Regions from separate parts of the Homo sapiens genome. Here all the other regions are linked to region 1. Evidence: promoter capture Hi-C in 16 types of primary human blood cells and fetal thymus (Javierre and others, 2016). All regions are on one chromosome and are shown on one strand. The core of a region is centred on a gene start or on the middle of the fragment in contact, and the rest is flanking DNA. Distances in the headings are between cores, read along the strand shown.

Region 1 (2,930 bases), core at 242-2,741:
TGAATCATTTGAGGTCACGAGTTCAACACCAGCCTTGCCAAAATGGTGAAACCTCCTCTCTACTAAAAATACAAAAATTAGCTGGGCATGGTGGCGCATGCCTGTAATCTCAGCTCCTTGGGAGGCTAAGGGAGGAGAATCGCTTGAACCGGGAGGCGGAAATTGCAGTGGGCCGAGATTGCGCCTCTGCACTCCAGTCTGGGAGACAGAGTGAGACCCTGTCTCAAAAAAAAAAGGAAAAAGATGTGGCTTAAAGGTGCCTTACATATCAGCGGTATGGCATAGTTTCATTGGCAGCCTTTGTTTTCTTTCTTGGGTAACATAAAACAATGTAAGTCTATGATTTTTTTAGAGCTGCTATGAAATATATTAATAATAATTATATAGGCCAAACTCTATTGCTTATTCATTTCAATGTATCCAGCTTATCAGAATGCCTTCTGATTTCTTGTTAAGAAAATGTAATGAGATGAGAATAGCTTAAGAAAAAAATCCTTAGTTCTGGGCTACAAGGGAAAATGAGTTATGACCCCAATTTAATTATTACAGAAAGCTTTCTCATTTGCCTTCATTGTGATCAGGGTTTGAGTATGATCTTTATTCTACCTCCCTTACTTCTGTATAGTTAGGATTTCATTAGGCGGCTAGAGGGTTCTTCGGATCATGGCTAAAAAAGAAAGCAAAAGGTTAAGTCCTAGAGTTAAGGAATTAGGAAAAAAAAATTAAGGCATTAGAAAAAAAATCAAGAATTAGGCTTTATTTTAAAAAATGGAACAAACTGTCAAATTCCTGCGTACCCGTTTAAACTGTCACCAACCTAACACACTGTAAAACTTAATGACTGTAAAACTGGCAGCAGGATCCTGAACATAACAAGGAACAAAAATAAGTTTGCTAGGCTGTTTTCATCCCAGCATGATTGAAATACACCGTTTCCTCAAAAAAAAAAAAACCTCTAATGAGGAAAGCAGTAAATTAAATGCCACGGTTAATGTGCCACTAGAAATAGGAACAAGTAGTTTAGTTACCGAATGCTTCTTAGGCCATACACTCTACACCACGATGCGTTCTTTTTTCTGTTTCGCTAAAGCTTTCACCAAGCCTAAGGCTGGAGAGGGGTCCTAACTGAGCCCTGACCAGACCAGGGAGCCCTACTGTGCAATCTCCTCAGGTTAGGAAGGGCCCAGTATGACCGGCCCAGAAGGCCTGGCCGATCAACAGGCGCTGGGCCGACGGTGGTGGGCTCGCTTCCTGAGGCTGCCCTTGGGCATGCGGAAGGGGACTGGCTGGCGATAACACCCTGGCGAAGCAAGGTGGACAGTGACTCCCGCCCGGTTCGAGCCCGCCTAGCAGGGGAAGCAACTCCACCACCGCCTCCGCGCACCGTCACGTGACGGGAAGAGGGCGTGGCCGAAGCCCGTGATCCGGGGGGCGGGCGGGGCAGGGGGAGGGCACTAGAATGTGAAGGATCTTCGCGGTTCTGGGTGCCCAGAAAGGCGGCGACGCGGCGGATGACAACATTAGGCCGCGACGCGCTCCTGGCCAGGCGGCGGCTGTAGTGTTAGCTTTGGACGCCGCAGTAGCCGCTGCCGGTAGCAAGCCGACTGAGGGAAGGTGGGGGTCCGCCCGGGCTGGTGGACCTCGGGGCCGAAAGTTCCCGCCCCGCTCGGGGGCTGAGCCGGCAGTGCCTCCGCGGCCGCTGGGCAGCGCCCTTCGTCCAGGCTCGCGCCCCAGCTGCCGCCGACGACAGCGGCCGAGAGAAGTTGGGGTCTGACTAGACGCTTACGGGGCCTCGGACCCCGGCGCCGCGGCGACCTCGGAGGAACCGGCTCCTTGCGTCCCGCCTCCCTGGGAGCTCCGCACGGGTGAGTGTTGCTCCATTCCTGAGGTTGGGGTGCTGGGTTCGCACCCCTCAGGGCGACTGCGCACCCTTATTGCCACGTTCTGAGCTCGGGCTGTCGGGGACTCCTGGCCACCCCCGCCGAGGAGTTCTTTGGCTCCTTTGTTCCCTTTTGGAGTAGGGGGATTGGAAAGGCTGGCAGGGTGGAGTGTTTAGGGGCCCACAGTAGGTGCATCTGCAGCCTTACAAAAGCCGCGGCAGGGGAACGGGGGTGGGAGGCTGTTGGAGCATTTCGACCGCCCCGGGTGTCTGTCCCTCCTGAAGTTTGATAGGTTGATGGCATGGGCCTCGTTGGGAGCCCCCGCGCCCAGGAGAGCTGGCGCTTTGTCGCTCGGTGCGGTTAAGGCGAGGCTCCTTCTTTCCTGTGACAGCCCCAGAGAAGGCTGTGCCGCGCACCGCAGACCGCACCCGCCTTTGCAGAGCCAAGCGACACGGTGTTGTTCCTCTAAGCCTCAGTTCTCCCGGCCTTCTTGTAACGTAGGAGGAAAGCCAAGCCTTTGCTGTGCTTTTAAATTTAATGTTTGTTTCTAAGCCCTCTCTCAAGAGTGGAATCAGGTTCCAAGGAGCTTCACAGGCAGCATGCTTTAGGTTCATTGAACCACCCACTCAAGACTGGCTGAGGCGAAGCAACAGTATATGCAGATTTTCCATTCACAAAAGTCATTTAACACTCTTCTTTATGAGACACATCTGCGTTGCAGAACGTAACCTAATTTCATTTTATTTAAATGCTTTCTGAAATAATAGGTAACTTGGACAACGTAAACAGATGGGTAAACTTTAACTGATAATGTAAGTATATATGCATTAAATAAAAAATTTAATGATGTTTTTGCCTTTCTGCTGCTAGAAGACTTAAATGACGTCTGAGTAGTAATACAGTGTCTCCTGCATGGCAGTTAAGTTTTTCCCAAAATTAGTGCTGCTTTTGAAATAATCCTTTAAAACAGTTTTTGCCTCCCTTCGTATCTAGAGAGAGCAAGAATTGTGGAGAATCGTGGGTGAATTGATTGTTAAATTTTGCTAATTT
Region 2 (2,930 bases), core at 288-2,787, 510 kb after region 1:
ATATGGCAAAGAACATGAAATGTTCCTGCCATATAGACTGAACTGAGGAACAACCTTAAAGAAAGTCTATACACACAAGGTAGGGCAGGTATGTTTTGAATTTGGTTTTCTTTTGGGCATGTTTTTGAATTTAAATTAACTGAGATAGTTTAAATAGTTTGTACATATATGGAATTAGAAATTAACCTAAACTGAATACTTTTGAATTGGAATACTCTTGGCTAAGACTTAGAACAAATTTGTAAAAGGCAAAAGTAAGTATTTCTGGCTTGGCTTATAGGACAAAAAAAGAGAACATAAAGCAGTGTGAATTTCAGGTGAGAAAAACTACTTTAAGTATTAAGATAGAGCATCACACTATTTTCATATCAGTGGATGGGTTGGAGTTTGTGTTCAAGTTTGGGGTTTTTTTTTGTTTGTTTGTTTGTTTGTTACTAAATATTGATGATGACAAAACAGTCTAGTTAAGGATAGAAAACCTCCACCTGTGGTTTGAATTCCTCCCCACCCCCTTTTGGATTTTTCTATTTATTAGATTATGTTGTTGACTCAAACATTCATGGAATTCACAGAGGGTGTGCTCATTGTTTAGTATCATAGAACTTGTATCATTGTTTAGTATCATAGAAGTGGGATTATTTTATTTTATTATTATTATTTTTTTTTTGAGATGAAGTATTGCTCTGTCATCCAGGCTGGAGTGCAGTGGTGCGATCTCCACTCACCACAACCTCTGCCTCCCGGGTTCAAGCAATTCTCCTGCCTCAGCCTCCCGAGTAGCTGGGATTACAGGCACGTGCCATTGAACTCGCTAATTTTTGTATTTTTAGTAGAGACGGGGTTTCACCATGTTGGCCAGGCTGGTCTTGAACTCCTGACCTCAGGTAATCTGCCTGCCTTGGCCTCCCAAAGTCCTGGGATTACAGGCATGAGCCAGGCCAAAGTGGGATTATTTTAATTGTGAATAATGTCAGACCCACTTTTGCCCTGTGCTTTTCTATTAAATAGAAATCCTAAGCCAGGTACAGCTTCAGGCACCTGTAGTCCCAGCTGCTCTGGTGGCGGAGGTGGAAGGATCACTTGAGGCCAGCCTGGGCAACATAGCGAGACCCTGTCTCTAAAAAAGAAAAGTGCTAGGGGCACCTGATTTAGTTAGTATATTGTCTTTCTGAACTAGGACTGTCTCATTTGGGATTAGTAGACTTAAAACTGTACAGCTGTTTGGGTACTGTCTTTTAGGAACTATAAAGTGATCCTCTGTGGTTGTTTATTATGTCCTTCTATTTGCTATGTACTTAACAATATTAACAATAACTATATATTAACAATAACCCAAGGGTTTTTTTTTTTATTTTTCTATTTGGTGTTTTCAATAATATTTTAAAAGGAAAATTGCGGACATGTAACAGTTGCTTTTATGTATTTATGTTTAAACCAGCAAAAACTAAGCAGTTCTAATTTTTATTCTTCACAATTTATCTTAGTATGCATACTGGCCTGCTAGCTTATTTTCTTTTTGTTAAAAACTTGGAAAAGTTATTAAGGAAATTTAAAAATGACAAATCATTTGTTAACATGGTGTGAGAAAAATCATGGAAAGTAAAAAGTAAAGTTGAGCATTTCTTCCCTTCATCATATAATTTAAACTGAAGAGTCTGTCTTTTTTTTTTTTTTTTTTCGGTTGCCCAGGCTAGAGTACACTGGTGTGATCACAGCTCATTTCAGCCTCAAGCTGCTGGGCTCCAGCAATCTTCCCACCTCAGCCTCTCAAGTAGCTGAGACTACAGGCGTGTGCCACCCTGCCCAGTTAATTGTTTATTTTTTGTACAAACGCAGGGGGCGTCTCACTATGTTGCTTAGGTTGCTCTTGAACTTCTGGGCTCAAGTGATCCTCCTACTTTGGCCTCCTGAAGTGTTGGGACTACAGTTGTGAGCCATCACACCCAGCCTCTAAGAGTCTTACATGTGCCAAATTAAGTAACACAGTTATTCCTAAATTTTCTGCTTTTGTTTTCCTTTAAAAATAGGATGATGATGCTGAAGCTATCCTTGCTGCAGACTTCGAAATTGGTCACTTTTTACGTGAGCGTATAATCCCAAGATCAGTGTTATATTTTACTGGAGAAGCTATTGAAGATGATGATGATGATGTAAGCGAATTTGAATCCTGCAAAGAAATAATTGGTTGAGGGTATAGTGGTCAGAATTGGTAATAGATTAGTTTAGTTTTTAAGAAGCAGGACATAATATAATTCAAAATTAGGCTAATTACTGATGTTCTGTATATAGCTTTTCTGGGTTTTAAGTATGTCTCCTTAGGATTTTTGGATTCATTTATCTTAGCTTTTAATTTTCTGCTAATAAGATTGTTCTGAGTTTATGAAACTTTTTTATGTTTGGTTAGTGCTATAGATCTATTATGCCCTTGCCTTGACTTCACAGAGCTAGGACTTTCTTTAGTGCACAAGAAAACATTTACTGGGAGGCATAGAATTTCTATTCAAGGTAGTATTGAATGATGGTTAGGTTAAGATTAGGTTGCATATAGATGTTTTGAATATGTTTATTGCTCAACGGCAATTGTTAGAGTAGGCTTTAGGTCCTTTTCGTACAGTGCATTCCACACTTAAGTGTAGGTGAGTAATATTTACAGTAATACTTGTCTGATCATCCACTTTATCCACATGATTGTACTCTGTTCTTTAATTTTATAAATTGGCAGTGAGCAGAGTGATTCTTGCAGCTACTATGTGTTTTAATTTATAATCAGCCCCTTGATAGGAAAGTAGGTTTTCTCTTTTTAGACACTAGTTTATACAGTGATAAATGTTACTGATGCTACTCTGAAATGTGTGTTACATTCACTCAACACTTAACGCTGTTTTTCCTTTTCAGTATGATGAAGAAGGTGAAGAAGCGGATGAGGTAAT
Region 3 (2,930 bases), core at 246-2,745, 500 kb before region 1:
AAACTATCACCAGGGTGCAAAAAATTAAGAACGGAACTTGAGAGTTAAGCACTTAAAAACCTCAGTAGTCTAGATGTGGTGGCTCATGCCTGTAATCCTAGCACTTTGAGAGGCCAAGATGGGATGATTACTTGAAGCCAGGAGTTTGAGATGAACCTTGGTAACATAGTGAGACCCCGATCTCTACAAAAAATTAAAAAAGGCCAGGCCTGGTGTCTCATGCCTGTAATTCTAGCACTTTGGGAGGCTGAGGCAGGAGAATCACTTGAAGCCAGAAGTTCAAGACCAGCCTGGGCAACATGGCAAGACCCCGTCTCCACACAAAATTTTAAAAATTAGCTGGGTGCAGTGGTGTGCACACCACTGTAGTATGCACACCACTGGAAATCCCAGCACTTTGGGAGGCTGAGGTGGGAAGATCACTTGAACCCAGGAGTTTGAGGCTGCAGTTAGCTGTGATCATGCCACTGCCCTCCAGCCTGGGTTACAGAGTGAGACCCTATCTCCAAAAAATAAAATATAAGTATTTGGGTGTAGTGGTGCATGTCTGTGGTCCCAGCTACTTGGGAGGCTAAGGCGAGAAGATTGCACGTGCCCAGGAGTTTGAGGCTATAGTGAATTATGATCACACCACTGTACTCAGGCTGGGCAACAGAGTGAGACCCTATCTTTTAAAAAAAAAAAAAAAGTAAGAAAAATAAACCTCAGTAGCAATTCAGTATTGCCACCATATCTAAGCTTATGATTAGTGGTCTCTTCTTGTTGAAGAAGCTGTGGGTCAGTTTGAGTGACAAACTCAAATGGCAAATCACATCTGGTGGGAGTTGTGTTGCACATTAGTCCTGTGAAGTAAGGTCACATATCAGTTTGCAGGAGTTTGGAAATCTAAAAAAACGAGTCCTTTACCATGGGTAGTTTGAGATGCACTGCTCTGGAGAATGACGTTAGAGAGCTCTCTAGGTTGGCTTAAAATGTGGGATTTTGTTGGATGCTCTTCCATTAACTGGTCCTGCTACTAAGTGCTGTATTAGCACTGGTGCACATTGAACTACAGAAGCATTGTTGCTCTTCACTAGTCAATGCAAACTTGTAAGTAGTGTTTTAAAAAAGGTGACACTTAGAAACAATATGGACTCAACCCACATTGGCCCTCATAGTCCTCATCTGTTATAAACATGCAACAGTAACAGATACGTTGTGATTTCTTTTACAGAGATACCATGAAAGATAGGTGTAAAAGGAGTAGCAGAGTATAATCTACTTCTCATTGGAGCCACTCTTCTATTCCCATGACTACTTTTCGTTAGTCCTATCCTGATACTTTTCAGCCCTAAACATATGGTCCTATTTGTATTTTCAAGTCTTAGTGAATGGTGGGAACAAAGTATACTCTTAGCTGATACCTGCCCTTTCTCATTCTTGCTAAAAGTTTCTTTTTTAAAATAGGAAAATATATTTGTTGATCGATCAAGGATGGCCCCGAAGACTCCAATAAAAAATGAACCAATTGATTTATCGAAGCAAAAAAAATTTACTCCAGAAAGAAATCCCATTACTCCAGTTAAGTTTGTTGACAGACAGCAAGCGGAACCATGGACACCCACAGCTAACCTGAAGATGCTCATTAGTGCTGCCAGCCCAGATATAAGGGACCGGGAGAAGAAAAAGGGACTATTCCGACCCATTGAAAACAAGGACGATGCATTTACAGATTCTCTACAGGTAAACAGACTGTGCTCCTCAGGGATTTTTTAGAACTTAAACAATTTTACTTGATTATTAAAAAATCATAGAACTGTCAACTTTTCAGCTCCTATTGAGCCAAAAGCAGTGGCAAACTGAATATCTTTTGATTTGTAGTAGAATTCTCATTCTATCTTATTTTTCATAATGAATGCTTTCTTTTCTGTATGATACTCCCTGGACCAGGGCTCATTTAAAAATGATAAATTATTTTAAAGTAATGATATTTAATCATTTTTATTTAATGAAGGAATTTGGATTCTTTAAATGCTGCTGTGAATTTTAATTTTGCCCAGATTTTAGGGATAATGTTAATGTAAATATTTTTGATTTAGGAAATTCCATTATTCTTATATATGTTCAGTTGGTTAGTTTGGGGCTTTATTGAAGTTAAGCCATCTTTAAATTACCTGTTCTGTGGGGAACCAGTGCTGTTGAATAAGCAGCATGTCTATACTTCGTTAAAAAAAAAAAAAAAGGTAATTATTTTCACTTCCCATCAAGCTTTTTCTCAGACTTCCTAAGAAAAGTTTTGCAGATTTCAGTATTCTTAACCATTTTTCTCTTTTTGGCGGATTTTTCAAGCTATAAAAATTGCCAAAATGAAGAAATTGGGAAGAGAGAAAAAAGATGTCTCGAATTACAACTTGAAATTCATAGAACAGAATGAATTTAATCTGTTATATATCTTGCAGTGGTAGAGTAGCGGTAGTAGTAAGAGATTCTTTCATGTAACTAAATACAAATCACACAGTAGTTCCTATGTGCTTGAAGCCAGAGGAATTTCACAATTCCTTTTTTTAAGTCTGGGCTGTTCTTTGGCTTCCTTTCCGTCTTATGTTTGATGTGGATCACACAAGGAGCTGGTCTAAGGCCTTAGGTTCAAATCACTAGCTGGGTGAGTTGGGGATATCACTCAGGATCTCTGCATCTCAATTTACTCACCTGTAAAATGAGGGTCGTGGTACCTGTCCTGGTTTTATTGGGGTTCTAAAAACTAAATAAGATTAAATGTGCCTTTTGTTGTCAAAGGCATGTAAGTATTAGATTTTTTGTAATTTTTTTGACAAAAATATAGCAAAGTGAAAATCAGCCAATGGGAATCGTTAGTGACCTCTTTCGCAAGGTAACATTGTTGATCTCTTACTTTGGCAGAACTAGTTGTTTAACACGCCCCTAAAACAATT

What was found. The method cuts DNA at HindIII sites, captures the fragments that hold promoters and counts their contacts. A CHiCAGO score of 5 or more calls a contact.
Region 2: a contact is called between a fragment that was not itself captured here and the fragment with the promoter of OSBPL8 in region 1, in 2 of 17 cell types (naive CD8 T cells and total B cells). The highest score is 5.5, in naive CD8 T cells.
Region 3: a fragment that was not itself captured here is called in contact with the fragment with the promoter of OSBPL8 in region 1 in 1 of 17 cell types (fetal thymus); the score reaches 6.9 in fetal thymus.

The regions. Positions count from the first base shown.
Region 1 is chr12:76,558,332-76,561,261 of GRCh38, reverse strand. It overlaps OSBPL8 (oxysterol binding protein like 8), which reads left to right and starts at 1,491. Exons shown (of 24, transcript NM_020841.5): 1 at 1,491-1,865. It overlaps LOC105369850 (a long non-coding RNA gene), which reads right to left and starts at 1,360. Exons shown (of 4, transcript NR_188081.1): 1 at 1,029-1,360. RefSeq lists a silencer at 1,661-1,850 and an enhancer at 2,261-2,570. The HindIII fragment of the contact is 3,809 bases long and covers 1,093-2,930 here.
Region 2 is chr12:76,049,751-76,052,680 of GRCh38, reverse strand. It overlaps NAP1L1 (nucleosome assembly protein 1 like 1), which reads left to right. Exons shown (of 15, transcript NM_004537.7): 12 at 2,028-2,150; 13 at 2,896-2,925. Among named protein-coding and RNA genes, the nearest start is that of PHLDA1-DT, 19 kb to the right of the region's middle. The HindIII fragment of the contact is 3,492 bases long and covers 1-2,930 here.
Region 3 is chr12:77,054,647-77,057,576 of GRCh38, reverse strand. E2F7 (E2F transcription factor 7) reads left to right here. Exons shown (of 13, transcript NM_203394.3): 3 at 1,447-1,722. Among named protein-coding and RNA genes, the nearest start is that of E2F7, 9.5 kb to the left of the region's middle. The HindIII fragment of the contact is 1,509 bases long and covers 741-2,249 here.